Regions from separate parts of the Homo sapiens genome. Here all the other regions are linked to region 7. Evidence: promoter capture Hi-C in 16 types of primary human blood cells and fetal thymus (Javierre and others, 2016). All regions are on one chromosome and are shown on one strand. The core of a region is centred on a gene start or on the middle of the fragment in contact, and the rest is flanking DNA. Distances in the headings are between cores, read along the strand shown.

Evidence for each region. The method cuts DNA at HindIII sites, captures the fragments that hold promoters and counts their contacts. A CHiCAGO score of 5 or more calls a contact.
Region 1: a contact is called between a fragment that was not itself captured here and the fragment with the promoter of TGFB2 in region 7, in 1 of 17 cell types (M1 macrophages). The highest score is 5.1, in M1 macrophages.
Region 2: a contact is called between a fragment that was not itself captured here and the fragment with the promoter of TGFB2 in region 7, in 1 of 17 cell types (naive CD4 T cells). The highest score is 5.5, in naive CD4 T cells.
Region 3: a contact is called between a fragment that was not itself captured here and the fragment with the promoter of TGFB2 in region 7, in 5 of 17 cell types (total B cells, naive B cells, total CD4 T cells and 2 more). The highest score is 7.7, in total B cells.
Region 4: a contact is called between a fragment that was not itself captured here and the fragment with the promoter of TGFB2 in region 7, in 1 of 17 cell types (megakaryocytes). The highest score is 5.2, in megakaryocytes.
Region 5: a fragment that was not itself captured here is called in contact with the fragment with the promoter of TGFB2 in region 7 in 1 of 17 cell types (total B cells); the score reaches 5.1 in total B cells.
Region 6: a contact is called between a fragment that was not itself captured here and the fragment with the promoter of TGFB2 in region 7, in 3 of 17 cell types (endothelial precursors, M0 macrophages and total B cells). The highest score is 17.6, in endothelial precursors.

What each region holds. Positions count from the first base shown.
Region 1 is chr1:219,130,197-219,133,778 of GRCh38, forward strand. All of the region lies in intron 3 of LYPLAL1-DT (LYPLAL1 divergent transcript), which reads right to left. Among named protein-coding and RNA genes, the nearest start is that of LYPLAL1-DT, 42 kb to the right of the region's middle. The HindIII fragment of the contact is 4,011 bases long and covers 278-3,582 here.
Region 2 is chr1:219,333,992-219,337,816 of GRCh38, forward strand. It overlaps a transcript of LYPLAL1 not described here. Among named protein-coding and RNA genes, the nearest start is that of LYPLAL1, 160 kb to the left of the region's middle. The HindIII fragment of the contact is 365 bases long and covers 1,456-1,820 here.
Region 3 is chr1:219,163,791-219,167,725 of GRCh38, forward strand. All of the region lies in intron 1 of LYPLAL1-DT (LYPLAL1 divergent transcript), which reads right to left. Among named protein-coding and RNA genes, the nearest start is that of LYPLAL1-DT, 8.0 kb to the right of the region's middle. The HindIII fragment of the contact is 2,675 bases long and covers 395-3,069 here.
Region 4 is chr1:219,223,966-219,227,517 of GRCh38, forward strand. It overlaps a transcript of LYPLAL1 not described here. Among named protein-coding and RNA genes, the nearest start is that of LYPLAL1, 52 kb to the left of the region's middle. The HindIII fragment of the contact is 5,390 bases long and covers 1-3,552 here.
Region 5 is chr1:219,092,653-219,096,422 of GRCh38, forward strand. All of the region lies in intron 3 of LYPLAL1-DT (LYPLAL1 divergent transcript), which reads right to left. Among named protein-coding and RNA genes, the nearest start is that of LYPLAL1-DT, 79 kb to the right of the region's middle. The HindIII fragment of the contact is 4,959 bases long and covers 1-3,770 here.
Region 6 is chr1:219,065,328-219,068,802 of GRCh38, forward strand. No RefSeq gene overlaps it. Among named protein-coding and RNA genes, the nearest start is that of LYPLAL1-DT, 110 kb to the right of the region's middle. RefSeq lists a silencer at 1,086-1,286. The HindIII fragment of the contact is 1,261 bases long and covers 1,283-2,543 here.
Region 7 is chr1:218,343,723-218,347,175 of GRCh38, forward strand. TGFB2 (transforming growth factor beta 2) reads left to right here and starts at 1,614. Exons shown (of 7, transcript NM_003238.6): 1 at 1,614-3,325. The coding sequence starts at 2,980. It overlaps TGFB2-AS1 (TGFB2 antisense RNA 1), which reads right to left and starts at 1,956. Exons shown (of 3, transcript NR_046268.1): 1 at 1,881-1,956; 2 at 1,453-1,666; 3 at 474-740. RefSeq lists a silencer at 1,542-1,601 and enhancers at 1,982-2,031, 3,163-3,453. The HindIII fragment of the contact is 5,586 bases long and covers 1-3,453 here.

The DNA.
Region 1 (3,582 bases), core at 1,033-3,532, 790 kb after region 7:
AGATGCAATAAAAGGAAAGATTGATAAATTTAACTATATAAAAAAAAATTAAAAAGCTTTTGAATGGCAAAACAAATTGAACAAACAAAAAATTACCATAAGTAAACTCAAAGATAAATGGAAAACAGAAAAAAATTACTGCAACAAATATGAAAGAAAAATGCTAATATTCCTAATATGTAAAAAGCTTTGAAAATTGAGAAAAAAGATTTTAAAATCCTGTTGAAAATGAGCAAAAGCATAAAGATATAGTTAACCAAGTGGTCCCTACATGTAAAGCTTATTCTACTCACAGAAGTAGAAATGTACACTAAAGCTCGCTGAGATAACTTTTCTTATCCATCATATTGGCAAAACCTCAAAAGCATATAAATACACTACTGGCAAGATTCTTTCATATGTTGCTGAAAGGAAGGCAAAATGGCCTAACTCTTATGGAAGGGCAGATTTGGCAATATTTAACAAAACTGTGTATGTATTTATCTTTTCATGCAGCCATTCCACTTCCTGGGATTTACCCTGAACAATATGAAAATACATGCAAGGGGTTATTCATTACCTCATTATTTGTAATTGCAAAATATTGGAAACTACCTAAATATCCAGGCATAGGAGATTGGTTAAATATACTATGTTACATGCACACAATACAATAGTATAGTATTATGTAGCTATAAAAGAAAATGAAGAAGAATTCACTGAAGCAGTAGGGAGTTACTTCCATAATATATCAAAGGAAAATAGCAAAGCATAAAAGTATATATTGTATCAATTGTACATTTTCTGAATTTGACCATTTGAGTGTGGTTATGTGAGAAATGTTCTTTGAAAATAATACACAGATTATTAAAGAGTAAAGGGAAATAATATATGCAATCTATTCACAAGTAGTTCAGGAAATGTAGGGAGAAAAAGCAAGCAAGAAAAACAAATGTAACAAAATGTTGAAATTGGTGAATTTGGGTAAAGTATATAAAGAGCAGCAGACAGGAATCAGTGACTTCTCTTGAGTACTTATACAACACTCTGTTATTTTCCATCATTTTTCACCATGAATTGTGAGTTTATTAATCTTTTTTTTTTTTTTGAGATAAGGTCTTGCTCTATCACCCAGGCTGGAGTGCAGTGGAGCATTCTCAGCTCACTGCAACCTCCTCCTCTGGGTTCAAGTGATTCTCGTGCCTCAGCCTCCCGAGTAGCTGTGATTACAGGTGCACACCACCACACCTGGCTAATTTTTGTATTCTTAGCAGAGACGGAGTTTCACATGTGGGCCAGGCTGGTCTCTAACTCCTGGCCTCAAGTGATCTACCTGCCTTGGCCTCTCAAACTGTTGGGAAACAGGCGTGGGCCACTGTGCCTAGCTGAGTTTATTAATTCTTATTCACTTTTGTCCTCATTACTTCCAGCAGGATCTGGCACATGGGTAGATTTCAAGTATAGTGTGAATGAATTAATTAATGAATTTTTTAAAGAACGAGAAAAGTGATTGTATGAATTGGTTTCTCCAGGAAATGTATCTTAGAGGAGGTAAATCTTAAATGCGTTTTTAAAATTTCTAAAACTGTGTCAGGGTGGAACAGAGGGTGAATATGAGCAGAGGGAACAACTTAAATAAGGCACAGAAACAGCTGTGAGTGCAATAGGGCTGGAGACAGTCAGGATCATTATGACAGAAACAGAGGCTTTAGAATGAAATTACTGGGAAATAAGTTTGGATAGCTGATGAAGAGAATCAGACTGTAGAGACACTTCAAATCGAGGCAGGAAGTTTGGGGAGGCACTAGAAACTCCCACTGGGCTCTTAGGAAACAAACATCCAGATAGCCACCATACATGGTTCCTCCTGATGACCTATTTGCACAGAAAAAAACAGGCCAATGATGAGGATTTTCGTCATTTCCCTGTCTTGTGTTGGTCACTGATTTTTGTCAGTGAGGCAGGCTTCCCAATGCCCAGTTATTCCTTTTGAATTTTGAGATAGGAATCTAGACAGATGGCACCTTAGTTTGACCTTGCCGTTATATAACCACAAGAAAAAGTTACTGTAGTTTTTTTTTTTTTTTTTTAAAATCTGTTACACTAACTGCATTATTTCATGCTCTGGAAGTTTTACTTTGGTGAAAAAATATGAAAAAAAAAGATTACCTTAAATAAGTTTTAACTTTAAGGTACAGAAAATGAAGAATGTCAGCTCCCATGATTAACTATCCTAGGCATGGCTTATGCTCTATGAGGTGCCAAAACTTGATGTGAATAACATTAAATGCTTCAAGATGTGCAAGCACATATATTCTCAAATGGGCAGAAGTGATTATTGTGAACATAGGCAAACTTTAGTTGAAGGATATGCATAATTGCTTTATTACACAGGGTGTACCAGGTCTACATGTATTTATTCATTAATTTTGTATTTTTTTCTGAAATGATCAGCATTAATTCCTAGTAACTGCATTTCTATAAGACATTCATAATATAAGAATATAACTATAATATACAGACAATAATCAGATTGAATTTAACACTAAATGACATAGAGCAGAATGAAGAATTTTTTAGAACTTAGCAAAATGCTACCCTTTCTTCTGGCTGGCCCAGGCAGGGAAGAAAGAAGGTGACTGGAATTCAGAAAATAAAATGACAATTTCTTTTTTCATTAGATGCCTATTTGTTAGCAAAAGAAGTACTTATTTTAAGCATTATTCAAAAAACACATCCTCAAAATATTAATAAACATCTCTTTAAAAATTCCTATATATACAGTTGTCTTCATGCCAATGCATTTGCAAATTAGTTTAATTATATAGGCACTCATTAACACATATTTATTATAAATCAAGAAGCTGCCAAATACTGCTTTGTGACCTGGGGATATAAACAGGGAGAAAAAAAGGCAAAGACAAAAATCTCTGTCCTCAGGGCTTATATTCTCGTAGGGAGAGATAGACATTGAACATCATAACTAAGTCTAAAATACAGTGTGCTGAAGGTGACAAAGAGTATCAAAAAAAGTTAAGCAGGTGAGGATAGGAAGTGTTGAGTGGGTAGTGTAACCACCAAATGTGTAAGTCTTGCCTGCTGCCCAGATATAGCCTATTTATCAAGATAGGAATTGCACAGAGAAAGAGTTTAATACACATACAGTCTGCTAAACAGGAGACTGGAGTTTTATTATGACTCAAATCAGCTGACCCAACAATCGAGTGGTTAGGGTTTTTCAAGAACAATTTGGCGGGTAAGAGGATAGGGAATGGGTGCTGCTGGTTGGTTGGAGATGCAATCATAGGGGTGTGGAAAAGAGTCATTGTGCACTGAGTCCCCTTGTGGGTGGGGGCCACAGAGGAGTCACTAGTCTGGATGGAACCATCTGGTTGTCAAAAAGGCAGAAGCCTGAAAAAACATCTTAAAAGGCCAATTTTAGGTTCTACAATAGTGATGTTATTTATAGGAGTAATTGAAGAAGTTGCGAATCTTGTGACCTCTGGAATAACAGCTGGTAATTATTTAACTACATCTACATCTTAGCAGAATTCAGGCCCCTCTCATCCTCCTAACCTGGTGGCCTTTCATTAGTTTTACAAA
Region 2 (3,825 bases), core at 388-2,887, 990 kb after region 7:
GGAAAACATTTTTCAAACATTTCTAATGTAAAATGTCTATTATTTAAAGACTTCAAATGAAGCCTTCCTTGTTTATTCAGTTTCCCCTTCACCTTCCCTTGTAGCTCCTGAAACTCTATCATAGAATCCCAAGGCTTCTTTGATCATGGTTTTGAAAACATTACTATAATAGAAAGAACCTTGAAAAAGGAGAGAGAATACATTTCTTAATTATATCAACCTTGTGACTTTGAGCAACCCTCTTAACTCTGAGTTTCTTTTCTGATATAACTGAGAATAATATCTGATCAATTTGTTGGACTGCTTTGATCATCAGTCTCATCTCCCACTGCAATTCTGCTCCCCATTTATACTTTAATCTTCTAATGTTGTAGGATTATTTGCCCTCCCCTAATACTCTGCCAATTTTTATGACCCTGGGCCATTGACCACTTTTTCTTCTATATCTAGAATACATTTTCCTTTTTTCTTTCAGTGAAATCCCTACTTTTCCAGCATAAATGACAGCTTTCTGACCCAATCATAATGAAGAGGGGTGTGTGTGTGTGTGTGTGTGTGTGTGTGTGTGTTTAATCTGCATTTGCATGGCATTTTGTATAACAACTTTTTACACCATGGCTGAGTTTTGATAAAGAAATAATTGTAAAATTTGTATCTATTTTATCCGGCATCTAATATAATCCTTAGTATGAAATAGATTCCCAGTAATTGTTTTTAGAATGAATAAATCAAAAACTTAAAGTTTTGTATTGTGTACTTATTATTATTATGCTAGCCATTTCTGTGTGAAGACTATTTTTTATTCCTCTGCATACCTTACCTTAGACTTTTAAACTCTTGTTGTATTAACCTACCAATACTCCACTCACAAAAGCATTCTTGGTAACATGGAAGGCACAGAAAACCTAATAAATGAAAAGGAGAATTTGTATATTTTATAGCATGGTTTTCCAAATTTTTACCATGCTTGTTTGTGCTCCCAAATTTCTTCTTTCCCATACTTGCACTCATGGTTCTGCTCTACCACATCTACCTTCTTTCCAAACCCACTTCTCAAAACATTTCCTCCATATACAGAAAACTCTCATAAATCAAGTCAAATTTTCTTCATCCAACTACATTTTTACATTAATAGAGAACTGAGCAGAAGAATTTTTTATTAGTTTAGGTCTCATATTTTGTTTTCTCAGCTCTATTTTCAATTACCACCTGTATTTGTGTATCTTGAATCAATTCCATCGATACTATCCCCTCCTGTTCACACTCATTTCATTGGTTCAAGTTACCACTTCTGTATATTTTTCAGGGTAAGAACTGCTGAATTACTTATTAAGTTAACTACAAAAGTGAAAGAATCAGGACCTACTTCAAAAAGGCATCATATTCCAGATTTTAGAACACAGCATTTTCTCATTTATATGTAATTTTTCTGGGGTATATCTTCACATACACATAAGCTTAACTTTCATTTTAACTTAGCTGAAAAAAAAACATTAGAATTTATAAGAAACATAAAGTGCGATATGTAATTAGAAACAGTAATTTGGTAAGAGAAAAAATGGGGTTTATATTGTATTCTTATTTAGGTAGTTGTGTTGCAGAATAAAATTTTTTAAAAAACTGCACTAAAAACTCTTCCCTCTAGAATGAGAACTCTCCTTGCTCCTTCATGGTAAAATAATTCATTAATCTATTCATTTACATATTATTTATTCACTTGTATCTTCATCACTAAATATCCACTGAACACTTTAATGCGCCCAGAATTGTGCTACAACTGGATACACAGTTGCCAATAAACAGGTTTGTTGATATCACAAAGCTTATGAGAGAGACAGATACAAACCCAATTAGCACAACGAAGTAAGTTGTGGACAGACCCTAATAAGAAAAATATTTGAGCAGGGGCATAGAAGAGTGAAGTCAAGAAAAGGTGATGTCAAGAAAGGCTTCACAGAGCAAGTGATGCCTGATTATCACATTAAATAATACCTGGGTGTTCTCTAGGTGACCAAACAGAAAGACATTCTCAGCAGAGGTCGAATGTCTTTCTGTTTGGTCACCTAGAGAACATTTTGACAACATTGCTCACAAACAGTGTTGACAAAAAACTCTTGGCACAGGTGTTACATCAACAAAGTGTATCTTTGATGTCCCATGATATCCCCTTTTATCAAGGATATAGTTTCTCTCAACCAAGAGTTCTATTAGCTACACCAGCTAATTTTGGAGGCACAGGGATGATGGCTTCAAAATTGAGTTGTTGCAAAAAGCCTGAATTTTATTAGTGAGCATACCAAGGTTTAATTAATTCTACTGTTACTACTTACTTGTCATGATATATTGGGGAAATAATTTAATCTCCCAGAGATTCACATTCTTCATTCACCAAGATAATGACACCTATTTTATTGTGTTATGTGAGGATTAAAATAGATAATGAGTAAAAAATACTTAAGACAGTACCTGGGATATGTTATGCACTCAAAAATGGTGACTTTTTTTACTAGCAGTGATACCAATACCAACACTGTTGCCATTGGGAACACTGCAACTATTGATAATAACAATTGTTACTATTTTCTGAGTTCCTTGGGCCAGCAAAAGTACAAAGTCCTTTACATGCCTTAGCCAATTTACTTGCCATTTCTACTATTATTATTCCTACAACTAGTATTGCCATAAAATCATTGTTGGAGGTAATGATATCAAAGTGTCCATAAATGTTATTTTCTCATGGCAATGTGCAACCTACCTATAACCAATCAGCTTGGGAAATGGAAAGCAATGTTTCTTTTTTCTTAATTGTGCTTTCACTACTGAATTCAGTAGAGTAAAAGAAATCTGCCTCAATATTATTTTGAGATATAGGACTGTATTATTTTCCTAGGTCTGCTTTCAAAATTACCATAAATTTAATGACTTATGACATCACAAGAAATGAGTTCTACTGGGCTGGAATCAGGTTGTCAGCGGGGCTGTTTTTTCTGAAGGCTCCAGGGGAGCCTGTTTCTTACCTCTCCCAGTTTTTAGAGGGTGCTAGCATTCCTTGGCCTGTGACTGCATTACATCATTCTCTGCTTTTATCTTCTCATTGTCTTCTCCTCCTTAACTTCTGAATATCCTGCCTCTCTTTTCTAAGAAATCTCGTGATTACATTGGGCATTGGATCCACTCTGATCAACCAGGATTATCTCTCTTGTTTAAGATCTTTAACTTAATCACATATACAAAATCCCTTTTACATACAAGATAACTTACTCAGAGGTTCTGGGGATTATGACACAGACATCTTTTGGAGGGCTATTATTCCATCTAGCACAAAGATTGTCAAATTGATGTTAAATTATTCAGGGAATAAGAACATCTGAAGAAGGTTTATAGTAATATTGTGATATAGAAAATATCTACACAGTGTAGAACATAAAACACATAGTGTAACCCATAAAACAAATATTCTCTTTGAATACATTCTGTTTCTTGTATTTCATTTGATTAAAGCAGGAGCACATGGGAGATTTGCAAGTAAGTAGACTCCACCTTGACTGGTCACTAGCTATGGGCTGGTGTACTTCATCTAGGAAATATTTTCCAACTACTCACATCAAAGAGGCTGTTCCATTTCTGTTCTGTATGTGAAGACTGTGGCTGATCAAAATTACTAAAAGTGGGGTGAAGGAATCAGTAAACCATAGCACACAAAAGCTGGCTCTTCACCTGTGTTTGTAAATGAAGTTTCATCGGAACACAGCCATGCCTATTTGTTTCTGTGTTGTCTATGACTGCCTTTGCATAACAAGGACCAAACTGTGTATTGCAACAGAC
Region 3 (3,935 bases), core at 482-2,981, 820 kb after region 7:
AGTAATGTGGAACGTGGTGACGTCTTTTGAGAAAAGGATTTAGCCAATCACTGGTCAATAAAGACAATAATTAAAAACACATACAGCTTCTGAGAACAAGAACCATAGCAAATTAAAGTTCTGCCTTCAAAGAGCTTCATTTTAAGTTACAGATCCCAAAACAATTGCCATAATTAGCATAAGCTTTGTATGTAAAGAAAAACCTTTACTTTTTTTCTAACTTGTGACGTAGGCCACTATTTAAACAAAAAAAAAAACTGATTCTCTACAAGATTTGTGTCTTTTTTTTTTGAGCTCATATGTACCTTTTAAATGCCATAGAATCTACAGGAATAGCCATAGAGACAAAATGAAAATGTCATTATTAAACTAGATTTAAACAAATTGCTAGAGAAGCTTCTTAGATTGATACTATTGAAAATGCCTTGGAGATCTGTGGAACACAGTTAAATGATTGCTATTCAGTATAAAGAGTATGGCTGAACTTTTTATATTACACTCTGTATTTTTTTTCATACTCAGAAATGAACAAGTCTGGTTAATAATGTTATGAGAGAAACTTGGTGCTTTACACAAAGCACAAATTGTAGAAAAAAATGCATGCACCTTGTGTTTATGGCTAGGGCCATGGGTCAAAATGAAAATCATGTCCTGTTTGAACTGAAATAATCAAGAAATTTCATTTGCAGTGCATTTTTACGTTTTCTGGAAGTTTGTTTTAAGACAAAGAACGTATTTATTGACAGTTCAATCTTTTTACTGGCGTAATGGATGACGTAAAGACAATGATGGGATTTGAGTCCTTGTGTGTCAAAAGAGACATAAAACTCGCCTTCTTTACTTCCATTCTGGTATGTTTCCTCTGAATAAGCAACAAATCCGTGGTAATTATTACCTTGAGTGACTTCCAGATGTTAACCATGCCATGTGACCAAACTCAACTATTCTCTAACAAGCATGGCAAGAGAGGGAAATTGTTAGTATATATGATGATTTCAATAACCATGAAAAATACCTTTTTTGTCTATCACATCCATCTGCATGATGTAAAAACCCTACATAAATAGGATACCTTTTTGAGAAGAAGAGGAAGACTTAAATCTGTGTAACATAGGTGAACTTTCCCTTTAAAAAAAAAAAGAATAGCTAAATTAATGAAAGCTGAATGTAATTTATTATCTAATCCTTTAAATGTTTTTAGATTTTAAATTATATGCCTACGCTCTATAGAAAGGGAGATAAATTATTATGGTTTATGTTAATTTATGACAAGTCCTTTCGATGTTTCCCATTTTCTAGGTAAAAATATGCTGTTAAATTGTTTTCAGCCAAACACTGATGCACTTTACATTTTCTATTAAGAAAAATAAATAATTCACACTTTTGCAAGGGAAGGTATGCACTTTTTCTGGCATTCTTGAAATTATACTATTACTAGCAGCAAGTGCCAGCAGACTTCATGGGTGGTATTTCTTACTGAAAAGCAAGACATGAATTAATATTTTTATTACAGTCAACTCACTTGTCTTCATAAATAAAATATTATTAATGTTTTTCCATTTTGATTTTAATGCTAGCAAGAAGAATATACAAATTGTTAGAAAAGGGAAATAAAATACCTGGATAAATAGTTTTTCAAAGACTGTCATTGGTACATATTAAAGCAACAGTTGAGATTGTCAGTTAAGGTTCCAAACACCGATGTGTACCGTGTTTTTTTAAATCTAAATTATTGAGTAAATTGCTTGTCTTTTATATTTTTCCTATTGAAACAGATGTGGTTAATATAATCTGTGAATGTCCTTTGTGTATTATGCATTCTATAATGACCATGTGAGCATAAATTAATAAGTAATATGAGAAAAAAATAAGCAAAAATTCTTTCTACAAACACACACACACACACACACACACACACACACACACACACACACACACACCCCTGCATCCTATTTTTAAGTGAGAGAATGATGAAGGACTTAGCACAGAGCCAACACTAAAGGGAAGCTCTTTATTTTTGTTGATATTATTGTTTCTCAGGCCCACAATGTTGGTATAAAGAGGGAAAGGCAGAAAAGTAAACAGTCAAATGTGCAAATGGCTATGTTCGTGGTAGCTGAGCTTGCTAAAAGCCTGTAGAAGAGGACTGATCAAAGGAAGAAACAGCAGACCTGAGTTTTGAAGAATGAGTAGGCAGTTGAAGAAGTAAATAGAGGAGGGCTACAAGCCTGGCTGAGATTAGAATGGGCAAAGCTGAAGGGACAGGAGGTGGCACAGCACATTTTTAACACTCTTGGTGTTCAACATGGTAAAAAGAGTAGAATATAAGACCGGATGTCTCCAGATATAAAATGGGGAACATAAGTAGAGGTGTGTTCCTAAAGAGCTTTAGGAAAACTGGTATCAATCCTTCTAATAGATGCACTATAAAAGCATCTTTTTAAAAAGACAACTCTGTGAAGAATGCTTTTATAGACACTGAGGAATGAAAATGAAAAAAAAATCCAGTTTGCCTGCAAGAAGGTCACAGAAACAGACACTCATTGAGATATAAGTTATACGTACTCTATCTTGTAAATTTAGACTTTGGGATATAAATTATACTTTCTTAAAATGAGGCATTCCTATCAAAATGACATTATTTGCTTTTATTTCCATGCTTAGATTTGCATAATTAACCTAAAGAATAGTATTTTCTAAATAGGATTACTACACCTTATGGGTGTACAAGACAGTTGTTTGGGCATGTGGAAAGAAAACATAAGAATTTGTTTATATTTTACTTTTCTTCCCTGTTTTACATTTCTACTTTTTTCTATGTTCAGTATGCACATAATGCATTACTACAATAGTGCATTCATATAATTTATAAATTAAAAATACACATTTATAAGAGATGTTCTAAAAACTTTTTACTGATAGGTATATATAATAGACAAATTTCTGAGACAACCACCATAAAAGTTAATTATTTTTACTATATCAACTAAACTGGACAGTTGTAGCTTGCACCAGGTAAATAGTACTGCTTTGATTTAGTTGAGGACATAAAGCACAGGACCTCTCATAAGCTTTGCCTTGTTGGGAATTGGAACGGACCTGTGGCCATTAATTTTATGTGTTTCTGCCCTCAAAAGCATAAAAGTATGAGGCAGGTGAGTCACACTCTGAGATCCACCAATTTCAAGGGGTCTACTCATTAGCTTTGGTGGGTTCACAAACCCTCTAACGGGCATTCAGAGTACTGTGTGTGTGTGTGTGTGTGTGTGTGTGTGTTGTATATTGGTTTCCCTTTCACTTGAGAGAGTCTGTAACTTTAAGCTAAATCTTAAATGAGACTATAAATACCCCCGCCATTGTCACCATCAATTTAATTGCCTTGCCATAGTACAGAGTCTCTTCTTCATTGGCTGACTGACCTCAGTACTCCAATCACACATGCCGCACTTTAAGCTACCAGCCTTCCTGTATCATGGCTCTTTTGTTTCCTTGTCTTTTATGACCTAGTTATTTCTTGCTCATGGTCATGTTCTAGCTTTGCTTGGTTCTCACTACAAGATTTGACATTGGGCTTTGTAATTTTCAAAAATTTTGCTTCCCACACTAAGCTGAAAACCAGGCCTAATATTGTGATCCTGACCCTGGCCTTGGCTGGTTTTCTCCAAGAGGTGGCCTGTCACCTGTGTACCTCTGGTTACTGCTTACATGCCAGAGTAACAAGTAGATGCCAGAGGAGTGTAGCGCTTTCCTCTCTGTTCATCCTTCCTGTTCAAAATATAACTCAATTAAAAGCATAATTTAACTCCAACAAGTAATATCTGAGACACTGTTCTAGGTATTTCAGGAGGATACAAAGAAATAAAACAGTTCTTGCTATTAAGGCAACTACAATTTAGTAGTTCACAGGACTAGCCATGCAGGAAAAGTACTTAAAC
Region 4 (3,552 bases), core at 656-3,155, 880 kb after region 7:
TTCCCTACCCTGATTTTTCCTGTTCAGTTATTGGCTTGTCCAATTGAAACTAGAGATATACTTGACATATTAGTTACTTAACATATTAATTTTGGCAACTTCTGCTATGTGTTCTTTTGCCAATGAAATTACTGAAATTGAAATATTGAGTGGGGGTGTCCATGAGAGACAGAAGTCTTTCCTTTGGGCATTAGGTATTAAGCCAGCTTCTCGATTATGTAACAAGAAAGAAAGAAGTGTTAAAAATGAAAGTTCACAACATGAACTAACTGGCAAGAGCAAATATATGACTCTTTTAAAATATTTTACTTCAACAGCAATAAATCTCTAGGTAAGTCTAACAACAGTATTTTTAAGTGGCAAGAGAAAAAATATCAATTTCAAATAGTAGCTAAAATGCATTTTTGAGGGGGACTTCTTAATTACCCTATGAAGTGTCGTGTGTTTTGGGTCAGCTGGTTAACATTGTCTTAGTTCTTCCATAGAATCAAAGAACTTTTATTACTGGAGGGGAATTCAGAGATTATCATTTTATACATATGGAAACAGAGATCCAAAGAACAGCGGTGACGTACTCATGGTTCTGATTATGCAGGACAAAAACATAATTCTCCTTATGGATGTTATTGTCACTGTGCCACACTGCCATAATGGTAGTGTTCAGAAAAAAATATGGCTGAAAATTCATATAACATTCAAATGTTGTAGATTCAGAACTATTTCCTTTGTAGACATTTTAATATTCATGCTGCTTTTAGCTCAGTTTTTACTGTTCTGCTAAAGGAATGCATTGGTCTCTCCCTCTGCCTCAGTGTGATAGCAGGCCCAATCTAATGTTTATAGTCATAGTGTAGAATTATGTATTTAGGAGTTTTTGGAGGTTATTAATCATTTCCTTCAGAGTTCTAATTTTCTAATTCCATAGCCTGCTTCAGTCCTTATCTTTTCCATATCTTTATAGGGTTTGATTAACCTCCGATTCTAGAAACTTGGACCTTGCAGTCTAGTTTTTCTTGTCTCTCTCAGCTATTTTCCTGTTTCTTTCAATGACCCACTCATTGTTAGCCCCTTAATGTGGAAGGTCCTTTTGACTCTATTGTTTCTTTTTATTCTCTCTCTGGCTGAGCTGCTATTTCTATGGCTTCAGACTGCTGGCTCCATGTCTATACCTCTGGCCCTAAGCACTCATCCTAGTTCCAGATTCATGTTTCTAACTTCCTGCTGGGCCTCCTCTCCTGGTTGCTCACCAGGCATAATATGTTCAAAACAATGCAAAATTCTTACATTTACCAAATGCGTGATTTGGGGGGAAAAATGCTAATCTCTTCAAGTATTTGTTTCCTTACCTGTAAAATGGGTTTCTGGTGAGATTTAATATAAAGAGCCCAGGACAGAAGTTGAGTTACTGTTTTTGTGGTTCATCCTGGAACCTGCTTCTCCTTTTGTGATCTTTAAAAAATGACTTTTTCTCCATATAATATCATTATGTCAGCATCTATTCATCCCCCCTCTCATCTTCTCACTTGTCAGTTAACAGATGCTTTTGATGTTCTATAAAAGCAACATCTTTCCATTGTGACATCTAAATCATCCTTGTTGACTCCCTCTTAGTTCTACCCTCCTCATAATCAGTTTGGATGGATCTCCCAGCCTCTGGTTTCTCCTCTCTTCCACCTATTTATTTCCCATGTGCCCTGAGAGTTATTGGTCTGTTCCACCACCTAATAAGCCCTGCTGGCTCCCCATGTTAGTCTGTCTTCAGAATAACATTCAAATTCTTTAGCTCAGCAGTAAATCCCTTCACAATCTGGTCCTTACCAGCTTCATCACAGCTTCACCTCCTGCCTCTCGTCTCCCATGTTACAGTGCATATGCACAGACAGATAGACACACACACATACACACACACCTGATGCTTCTACCATGCCAATATTTCCTGGACGTGCCAAACCTTTTCATGACTTTGTGTGTAGCATATTATTCCTTCTACCTGGAATGCTCTTTCCTTCTCCCTCAATTGACAAACTAAACGTTTTAGACACAAGTTTTGAGTGACGCAATGCCTTGCCCAAGTGTCTATGGTAGAAGTTGTCACTCATGTTCTCTGTTCTCCATGTTTCTGTATTCATCTTTTACATGTTGGTCCTGTACCCACTACATATTTTGAACTCAAGGCTAAGGGCTATCTATCCCTTTATCTTTTCTTTTTTCTCTTAGTGCCTAGTACAGTGATTGCCACACAATTGACATGCAATACTGAACAATGACATAACTATCATTTCTGGTTGGCTTTTTTAACTGCTAGTTTATTTGGATGTTCTTTTATATTTATTTCATAAGAATCCAGGGATCTGATCCTCTGTTTTTTGCCTTTGTTTTCCCTGAGGTTAGATTTAGTTTTTATAAAGGCAACATTTTGTTTTTGACTATAAAATGCTGCCAAATATACAGCATGCATTCTGCTCCCACTCTGTCCTTGGAAGACACTGATCATCGGTCAAAATATTCTTCCCTGAGAAGCCACGTAGGTTCTTAACCCTTCTCAACACAGCACATCAAATAGATAGCTGCTATCAGCTGAAAGTAACTGGTAGCTGATGTGAAATCTCTTTGGAATAACACATAGAAAAAAAAAAAAGGTGAATACTCAATGACTTCAAATTCTGATCCAGCTTTGTTGCTGACCAACAACTCTAACATGCATGCTGTGGTACTCTGATATCTTGTGTGCAATAGATATTCAACAGTTAACTGTTTATTAGTTAATATTTATTGCCAAACTATTTTGCCTCATTTTCTTTATTCAAAAATAGAAGAGTTAATTTTCAAGCAACTGTTGGTAGTTGTTGTAAAGATGAATATAATGAGGAATGTGAATTAACTAGGGGAAAAGTTTAAAATCATATATAAAGATAGTCTCATTAAGTTTAAGTATTATGTACTTCATTAAGTTACTTGCAAAACCAATTCAATATCTTATGATTGTGTTATAACAACCAGGCAAGTAGAAAGTACCAACGTATACTTTAAGATAATTTCAACTCTTCTGTCTTTGTACTGAATGAGTGATATGTGGAAAAAACTGCATCGTTTGTTTGAACTTGTTCACACCCCTATGCAGGGGCCTAATTCTGCCAAGATGACAGTGTATGTATGAATTAATTCAATGAACATTTATTGAACATTATTGTAAATGCTGAGAGATTTTGGTAAGCAACGCAGACGAAAATCTCTGCTCTGAGGAGTTTACATTCTAGTAGCACATCCATATTCCATTCGAGAAAAAAAGTCTAAATCAGAGGAGTTCAGAAGATTTTCAGAATTGTCTTTACTGACTTCCCACCACTCTGCTTCCTCTTTCAAAGACAGGAGTTGGATGTTGATTTGTGGTGTCTGTTTCGATATTGTGTTTTTCCTGGCTAATATTTCTTAGTTTATGAAATCAATTTGGGCTTCTTCCTACTTATAAGTATTAACACTTGCAAGGTTATTTTTGCATCTTTTTGTTCATTTTGATCAGTTATAGTGCTGAAAATTCTGTAGTCTTGCACT
Region 5 (3,770 bases), core at 137-2,636, 750 kb after region 7:
ACATAGTACTGGAAGTTCTAGTTAGAGCAATCAGACAAGAAAAAGATATAAAGAACATCCAAATTGAAAAGAAGTAAGTCATCTTTGTTTGCAGATGATATGGTCTTATATCTGAAAAATACCTAAAGACCTTAACAAAAATCTATTAGAACCAATAAACAAATTCAGCAAAGTTGAGGGATACAAAATCAACATATAAAAATCAATAGTATTTACATATTACATCAGTGAACAATCTGAAAAAGAAATCAAGAAAGTAATCCCAGTTACAATAGCTACAAATAAAATAACATACCTAGAAATGAATTTAACTAAAGAATTTAAAGATATCTACAATGCACTCTATAAAACATTGATGCAAGACATTGAGGAGACCAGAAAAAAATGAAAAGATACTCTATGCTCATGGATTGGAAGAATCAATATTGTTAAAATGTCTGCACTATTCAAAGTAATCTACAGATTCAGTGCAATCATTATTAAAATACCAATACAATCTTCACATTAATAGAAAAAAATCATTCCAAAATTCATGTGAAATCACAAAAGACCCAGAATAGCCAAAGTCATTCTGAGCAAAAAGAACAAAATGAGAGGAAGCACATTCTCTGATTTTGAATTATTCTATAGAGCTATAGTAACCAAAACAGCATGGTACTGGCATAAAAACAGACACATAGACCAAAGAAACAGAATAGATAAATCAGAAACAAATCCATACAGCTATGTTGAATTTATTTTTGACAAAGGCGCCAAGAACATACAGTGGAGAAAGACAATCTCTTAAATAAATTGTGCTAGGAAAACTAGACGTCTATAGGCAGAAGAATGAAGCTAGAACCCTATTTTTCATCATCTACAAAAATCAAATCAAAATGTATTAAAGAGCTAAATCTAAGACCTAAGACTATTAAACTATCAAAAGAAAACATTGGGAAAACTCCACAGGACATTGGTCTGGGCAAAGGTTTCTTGAATAACACCTCAAAAACAGAGATAACCATAGCAAAAATGGGCAAATGGGATCACATCAAGTTAAAAAGCGTCTGCACAGAAAAAAAATTTAACAAAGTGAAGAGACAACCCACAGAATGGGAGAAAAATTTTCAAACTATCCATCTGTCAAGGAATTTATAACCAGAATATATAAGGAGCTCAAACAATTGGAAAAAAATCTAATAATCCAATTTAAAAATGGGCAAAATGTCCAAATAGTCATTTCTCAAAAGAAGACATATAAATGGCAAATAGGTATGTGAAAAGATGCTCAACATCACTGATCATCAAATAAATGCAAATCAAATATCATCTTATCCCACTTAAAATGGCTTTTATCCAAAATAAAGGCAATAATGAATGCTGGCAAGGATGTGGAGAAAAGGGAATCCTCAAACACCATTGGTGAGAATGTACATGGGTTTAGCCACTATAGAGAACAGTATGGTGGTTCTTCAAAAAACTAAATATAGAACTACTAAATGATCCAGCAGTTCCCCTTCTGAATATTTATCCAAAGAAAATGAAATCAGTGTGTTGAAGATATTTCTGTACTCCCATATGTATTGCTGCACTATTCACAATATTCAAATTTAGAAGCAACCTAAGTTTCCATCAACAGGCAAATGGACATAGAAAATGTGGTACACATACACAATGAAGTATAATTCAGCCTTAAAAAATAAGATCCTGTCATTTGCCAAGATATGGATGGAACATTATGTTAAATGAAACAAGCCAATCACCAAAAGACAAACTTCACATGTTCTCCCTTATTTTTGATAGTTGAAACTTAAAACAATTTAACTCATGGTAATAGAGAGTAAAATAATCGTTACCAGAGGTTGGGAAGGAAATGAGTACAAAAATATAGTTAGAATGAATAAGATCTAGTATTTGATAGCACAGCATGATGACTATAGTCAATAATTTGTACATTTTTAAATATCATAAGAGTATAACTGGAATGTTTGTAACACAACAAAGTAATAAATGCTTGAGATGATGATACTCCATTTACCTTGATGTGATTATTACCCATTGTATTCCTTTATCAAAATGTCTGATATGCCCCATAAACATATATACCTACTATGCATTCCTAAAAAATAAAAATAGAAAATAGAAAACCATTGATAAGTTAAGATACCTCATAAAAAATTAACCATAATAGGAATTATAAAATACTTAGATAAGAATGAAAATATCAAAGCAAGAGATAAAGCAGAATTGATATTTTGAGGAAAAATTTATAGCTTTAAAGTGCTTATTTTTTGAAAAAGATAAATGCTGAAAATTAATGATGTAATTGTCATGTTAAAAAAAATAGAATGAATGTATCAATGCCAATCAATGAACAGAAAACAGATATAATAGGAAATATAAATAAATCAGAAGTTGGTTACATTGAAATAAAAAATATAAACCTCTGATAACTTAATCAAAAAGATAAAGAAATCTCAATGAAAAATTTTAAAAATGAAAATGTGGGTATATCACAAACATAACAGGGATTTTTAAAACATGAAAGCAAAATAAAATACATAAAAACAATAAATTTCAATTTAGATAAAGAAAATTTCTAAAAATAAAACCATACCAAACTTACTCAAGACACAAACTGAGAGCCTGTATTAATCTTGTGTATACTGAAGAGAATGAATTGGGGGTTGAAAATCTTCCTAAAAAGAAAATATCACACTAAGATTGTTTAGTTGATTTACAAGGAGCAGCCATTCTATTGTATTGCAATTCTAGAATATGGAAAAAGAGGGGCTATTTCTCAACTCTTTCTATAAGGTCAGTATTCCCCTAGTATCAAAACCACACAAACACAATAGAGAAGATAATTGTGGGTGAGTCTCACTCACAAAAAGATTTAAGTTTTTGTTAAAAATACTACAAAACTAAATTTAACAAGCTAAAAAAATACAAGCACATATAACCAAGTTGGGGTTTATCACAAACTTGCAAGGCAGTTTAAATCAGAAAATCAATAAATGCCATTAAGCAAATAAACAGAATAAATTTTGAAATGTTTTATTCTATATGAAGAATAATAATTTATAAAATTTAACCTACCATCATGATGATACCTCTTACCAAACAGTAGCAAGAAAGGACTTCCTTAGTCTTATAATGTATGTCTACCAAAAATGAGACATCTTTCAGTATGGAGAAGCATTAGAAGAGTTCCCTTTAGAATTAATACAAGTATATTTCATATTACAATTTTTACTCAACATTCTCCTTTAAGTTTAGTTAGCATGTAATTCAAGAAAATGCAAATAAATGGATAAGAATTAGAAAGGAAAAAATTCAAAATTATCATAATTTTCAAGTGATATCGGTTGCTTTCAAAATCTCAGATTATCCAATGATATGGTTTGGCGATGTCCCCACCCAAATTTCTTCTTGAATTGCAGCTCCCATAATCCCCACATGTCATGGGAGAGACCTGGTGGGAGGTAATTGAATAAAGGGGGCTGGTTTCCCCATGCTGTTGTTGTGATAGTGAAACAGTCTCATGAGATCTCATGGTTTTATAAAGGGCAGTTCCCCTGCACACACTCTCTTGCCTGCCATCATGTAAGATGTGGTTGCTTCTCCTTTGCCTTCTGCCATGATTGTGAGGTCTTCCAAGCCATGTGGAACTGTAAGTCCATTAAATTTCTTTTTCTTTATAAATTACCCAGTCTCAGATATATCTTCATAGCAGTATGAAAATGGACTAATACAGCAAATTGGTACTGGTAGAATGGGGTACTGCTATT
Region 6 (3,475 bases), core at 663-3,162, 720 kb after region 7:
TTTACATATCATAGATATTTTGCCTGCCATGTTTATTAAGCATTATATTTTAATCTGTTTTGTGGTTAGTATGAAATTTCAAATCATATACCACACTGGTTTTAGATTTTGTGACTTAAAGATCTGTAATTAAATTACATTTTTTGAGTTTTTAAAAATAATCTGCAAGACACTTAAGCTGTATAGGTTTTAGTTTCTAAATTTGTGTTAAAATTTAAACAGAATTCATCAAAAAACATTTAGTGTAATTCTGATGTAATTTAAATTAAATTACATCAGAGTTTCTGTTTCTTTAATTTCATTTTTCTAACACAAGAGGGAAGTGTTCTAAGGCTCTAGATGAAAACACATACTGAATGAAAACCCCTATGAAATTAGGCAGGTATACTTAATTAAAGTTGCCACTTGGCTAATATGTTTTCCATACTCCCACACACTGTAATATCATAAATATTCTTTATGTCCAAAGTGTGCATCTTTGTGAAGAAAATTAATGGGTTCTGAGGAGAAATAAAACAGATGTTATTATTCTTTGGTGTTTTAACCATCTACCCATATCTTCCTCTTAAATGTCTGACAGCACTTTAGTACAGGAAGTCTGATATAAAGGGAATATCTGTGGCTAAAGCTATATACAGATGCTCAAATTATGAAATTAAAACATAAGGACAGTTTTGTTCCCATAATTAAGGTCTGTCCCTCACTTTCCTGCTTAGAAACTGAATTGCTCAAGTTCTGTCTTTTAGGCAGAGTTGTCTACATTCATCACATTTACAGATCCCTGACTGAGAAAAGTTTTAGCGTTACATTCAGCTTTGTTGCAAAAATGTCAGCATTGTCTTGTACTTGGGATGGCTGGTTGTGTGTGATGGCCAAGGTCTGCTCAGGGAAGGGTACTCTTTGTTTGACTGAATCACTTGAGACCATAGAGAAAAGGTGCCCTGGGAATAATCAGAACTGGCTGATCAGAGGAGGAACAGAAATGTGGAGCTGTCCAAAAGAGAGAGGTGGAGAACTAGTTTGAAGTCAAAACCAAGCCAAAAGAACTGATGAGGTTAAGAAACCAGCAGGAAGGTATACTTGAAGTGTAAGCAAGTGATGCTTAAGACTGAAGGTGTGGAATTGGGCTAAAGCTGCCCAAAACAACAGTGATATTTTCTTTGCTTCTCTTGGTGAAAGAGCAGTGTCAAGACTTAAACATTGTATAAGAACCATTTTGCCATTTTAAACAAATCAACACTTGCAAACCATGTCCCTCCCTGCCCTATGATTGCCCCGTGTAAGCTTTTGGTTACAAAAAGCCCTCAGAACAAAAAATGCAGGCCAGTTGTAAAGCCTTCATTCACGAAGGCCCAGCCTCAGGGCTAAATGGGAGAGTTCTGCCAGCCATCAAACTTAACAGCCTTTAAACATGTGCAACATTTCTCTAAGCAAATTGGTTCCTTAATATGGTAAAATGTGCAGCACCCAAGGGGAAATACTGGTGATCTCATTGCCCAAAACTGATGGAGTCACAGCACTGTATTCCTGAAAAGTACTCATATTTTCCACTTTGATAAAATCAGAAGCAAATATGAGAGTCAGTAGGTTTTGACATCCATTGTTCATTCTCACTTAACTTTTCTTCCTATATAGCAGAGCACAGTGGTTTAATTCATAGCTTATGGGATTTTTTTAATATAAACCATTCAAATTTTTTCTATATTAATCAGTGGTTTCTAAAGATCCACAGGGATAAATAAACTCTGCAAGCTGGCAGAGGTTTCTTGTGGCACAACCACTGGTAGTTATAAACAGTAAACAAAACATAGTAACCATTTTAAGCACAAGAGATTGCTGTATCACACAGGGCATAAATCATTAGCTTAATAATTTCAGCAGCAGTGTCTCCAAAGCAAAATTAAGCCAACAGTTCCCCCTGTGGCAATAATGAAGTACTGTAATTGTAAAAGAAAAAAAACAAAACAAGAGAAGGCATGATTATACCTCAGCAATGATTGAAAATCCAAGTTCAATAAATAACTATAGGAATCTCATCTCTGCTGCTCTTTGGAGAGGTGGGAAAGGGCTTGCCTCCAACCCCCATGTCCATTCTTGTAGGCAATTTGACATGCACAAGCGCACTTTCCCTTAAGCCCCCACAATTCACATGTGCTGTAGGTAGGGCATGAAAGTGATGACTTATAACAACTGAGAAGATGACAAATTTCTCTCAGCTGTATAGGCGGACATTATTCAGAGAATTAAAGAGCCGAAAGAGTGCTAGGCCCAAGACAGTCCAATGTTGAGCTGGGCCATAAAACCTGGATACATGTCTTCCTCATGAATTTGCCAAGTGTCAAAGTTCGTTTTTTAAAAACTGGCTAAAAATTTGGTGATTTGGGGTAAGTGCTATGGAACATTATCAGATAAAAGGAGTTCAGGGAGACCATCTTGATTCCTCTGCTGTGTCGAGTCAATACTATAGAATCTTCATTTTTACTCTTTAGTCATCCATTTTATAAAATCAATATAGTCTTATTATTATCTCTCTTTTTAAAAAAAGCTTTGAGTGGACACAGTATCTCTTTGAATTTTCTCAATAATCCTATGTATTTAAAGTAGCATTTTACCTTTTAAAACATACCCTATTTTTGACTACCTATTATGAACACATCTATCTCCTCAGAATGTATTTCATCTAAAAACTCTATGATTTAGTAAAGCAGAAGGTATATTATTTGCACAAAGCTAACTACCAGCTTGATTATCTTATTAGTGGATTGAGGAATGATTTGATTTGATAATACAGGGATACAGATTAAACTAGATTGTGTAGCGTCAGTGCCACTTTTACAGGATGGGCAGACCCCAGGCACCTAAGAAATAATCAACAAATGTCAATTTCCCCATTTCCTTTCTCTCTCTCTTTCTCTCTTTCTCTCTTTCTTTCTTTCTTTCTCTCTTTTTTGACACAGAATTTCACTCTGTTACCCAGGCCAGAGTACAGTGGCGTGATTTCGGCTCACTACAACTTCTGCTGCCTGGGTTTAAGCGATTCTTTTGCCTCAGCCTCCCGAGTAGCTGGGATTATAGATGCCTGCCACCACGCCTGGCTAATTTTTGTAGTTTTAGTAGAGACGGGGTTTTACCCTCTTGGCTAGGCTGGTCTTGAACTCTTGACCTCGTGATCCACCCGCCTTGGCCTCCCAAAGTGCTGGGATTACAAGTGTGAGCCACCTCACCTGGCCAATTTCCCCATTTTCATTGTGCTTTGTTTTTAAGTATGACACTCAGGCAAAATCATCTTAAAGACTCCAATGTCTATGCTTATTAGGTTAAATTGTAGATATATATTTGGATATAAATACTCTCCTTTATTAATCTGAAATAAGAAAATTAGATGGGAAATGGCCTTCTCTGCACCTATAAGAAAAGACTTTTCTCCATGAACAAAATAAATTATTACATCTTTCAGCTCTCTGTAAAAAAAGAC
Region 7 (3,453 bases), core at 364-2,863:
CATAATTTTTAGAATTATTCAGAAGTGGGTTGGAACAATTATTTTATTCCAGAGTTTTTCAATGTGTGATAATGGAAAAAATTCTGTATTCAAGGGAGTTTGGAAAATGCTGGGTTAAAAGAGTGAAAAGGTTTTCTCTTCTACAGGAGTTTCAGAGCCTTTAACATGATAATGTTCCAGAATGAGGAATCTAAGAGGACAGGAGAGTACCCAGTATCTCCCAAACTTGTTTGACTCCAGAATTCCTGTTTGTCAGAACATATTCTGGGACCATTGTTTCTCAGAAGTACATAGTAGGTAAGAACATAGTGGATCCTGACTGCAAAAATCCAGCTCTACCACTTACTGTGGTCTCGAACAAAGTACTTAACTTCTTTGTACCTCAGTCTCCTCATCTGCCAGATATGGATAATAAGACCCACTTTATAGGTTCATAGTGAAGATTAAATGACCATACACAACACACATCAAATTACTAAGTGTAGTATATGTTAGCTATTATTATTTTATTTATTCAGTGCTCTACTAATAACCTAGGCCCCATACACAACTGAAGTATAAATTCCAAAAGTGATAGAAAGTTCTTTGTGACTTTTCTGAACTCAGGAACATCTGAAGTAGAGAACAGTATAGAGATCTTGGGTTTGGGAGTACATTCAACAGAGTTTCCAGTTTAAATCATCTGTCTGGTCAGTATGGCTGCAGAGTCATGCCGAAATGAAAATGTTGACTTTGAGTAACTAAAGGTAAAATAAAAGAAAAAGGGAAGGTGGAACAGTGGTAAGAGTTATTCTTGTATTCATCTAATTTAGACTTAGTTGAAATTGAAAATGTCAAGTTATGAGTAGTGTAGAACAGTAGACATCAAACACTTAAAATTCCAGCTTCCTGGATTAATGCTATGGAAAGAATGAAGTTGGTTGATAATGTTTAGCCTAGCAAGAAGGTGAAGAAGAAAGCCATACAAGAAGTGGCTTAGGCAGCAAATTATAAAGGTGACCATTCATTCAAATCAGTAAAACAAACAAGTATACCTTATTCTTTAGGTAAAATTGATGGATCTCTGTTTTCCAGCAGTTCACAAACAGAGGGGTACATTGTAAACAACAAACTAACAAAATAAATTCTGGGATGGCAACCTGCTAAGGTATCCCAGAAAATAAGAGGTAGGACATGAATTTAAAAGATTGGAAGGTATGTCTTCAGTACTGGCCTGGCCCTGAGTAGACTAGTGCTCCCTCCCATAGGGGTGCGTGTGCACACATAATACAGGAGGGAAGCCTTCCCTTCTAGAGCAAGTGATTCAGCTTGGGAGGCTGTGACTGAGCTACACTAAGTAAAAACGGGAGACTTGATTGTCCTTCCTTCAACAGACCTGTCCAAAATGACTGGAAAGTAAATACCGTAAATCACTGTTGTCAGGGCGCACATTCCACCTCCTTCCTCCCTTACCCACAGCGGTCCTCATTTCCACACTCCCTCAACGGTTCGGGGAGAGCTCGTGGTCTAAGTAACGAGAGGACTTCTGACTGTAATCCTAGCACGTCACTTTGTTGAAGGCAGACACGTGGTTCAGAGAGAACTTATAAATCTCCCCTCCCCGGCAAGATCGTGATGTTATCTGCTGGCAGCAGAAGGTTCGCTCCGAGCGGAGCTCCAGAAGCTCCTGACAAGAGAAAGACAGATTGAGATAGAGATAGAAAGAGAAAGAGAGAAAGAGACAGCAGAGCGAGAGCGCAAGTGAAAGAGGCAGGGGAGGGGGATGGAGAATATTAGCCTGACGGTCTAGGGAGTCATCCAGGAACAAACTGAGGGGCTGCCCGGCTGCAGACAGGAGGAGACAGAGAGGATCTATTTTAGGGTGGCAAGTGCCTACCTACCCTAAGCGAGCAATTCCACGTTGGGGAGAAGCCAGCAGAGGTTGGGAAAGGGTGGGAGTCCAAGGGAGCCCCTGCGCAACCCCCTCAGGAATAAAACTCCCCAGCCAGGGTGTCGCAAGGGCTGCCGTTGTGATCCGCAGGGGGTGAACGCAACCGCGACGGCTGATCGTCTGTGGCTGGGTTGGCGTTTGGAGCAAGAGAAGGAGGAGCAGGAGAAGGAGGGAGCTGGAGGCTGGAAGCGTTTGCAAGCGGCGGCGGCAGCAACGTGGAGTAACCAAGCGGGTCAGCGCGCGCCCGCCAGGGTGTAGGCCACGGAGCGCAGCTCCCAGAGCAGGATCCGCGCCGCCTCAGCAGCCTCTGCGGCCCCTGCGGCACCCGACCGAGTACCGAGCGCCCTGCGAAGCGCACCCTCCTCCCCGCGGTGCGCTGGGCTCGCCCCCAGCGCGCGCACACGCACACACACACACACACACACACACGCACGCACACACGTGTGCGCTTCTCTGCTCCGGAGCTGCTGCTGCTCCTGCTCTCAGCGCCGCAGTGGAAGGCAGGACCGAACCGCTCCTTCTTTAAATATATAAATTTCAGCCCAGGTCAGCCTCGGCGGCCCCCCTCACCGCGCTCCCGGCGCCCCTCCCGTCAGTTCGCCAGCTGCCAGCCCCGGGACCTTTTCATCTCTTCCCTTTTGGCCGGAGGAGCCGAGTTCAGATCCGCCACTCCGCACCCGAGACTGACACACTGAACTCCACTTCCTCCTCTTAAATTTATTTCTACTTAATAGCCACTCGTCTCTTTTTTTCCCCATCTCATTGCTCCAAGAATTTTTTTCTTCTTACTCGCCAAAGTCAGGGTTCCCTCTGCCCGTCCCGTATTAATATTTCCACTTTTGGAACTACTGGCCTTTTCTTTTTAAAGGAATTCAAGCAGGATACGTTTTTCTGTTGGGCATTGACTAGATTGTTTGCAAAAGTTTCGCATCAAAAACAACAACAACAAAAAACCAAACAACTCTCCTTGATCTATACTTTGAGAATTGTTGATTTCTTTTTTTTATTCTGACTTTTAAAAACAACTTTTTTTTCCACTTTTTTAAAAAATGCACTACTGTGTGCTGAGCGCTTTTCTGATCCTGCATCTGGTCACGGTCGCGCTCAGCCTGTCTACCTGCAGCACACTCGATATGGACCAGTTCATGCGCAAGAGGATCGAGGCGATCCGCGGGCAGATCCTGAGCAAGCTGAAGCTCACCAGTCCCCCAGAAGACTATCCTGAGCCCGAGGAAGTCCCCCCGGAGGTGATTTCCATCTACAACAGCACCAGGGACTTGCTCCAGGAGAAGGCGAGCCGGAGGGCGGCCGCCTGCGAGCGCGAGAGGAGCGACGAAGAGTACTACGCCAAGGAGGTTTACAAAATAGACATGCCGCCCTTCTTCCCCTCCGAAAGTAAGTACTTATTTTGACTTCCATCCCCTGAGGTTTAGCTCTGCCCGGAGCTCTCAAAACCGCAGCAGCTCCCGGGATCGCCCTTCCCTCTCGCGGTTCCCGTTCGCTCTTTTCCCGTTCTCCTGTCC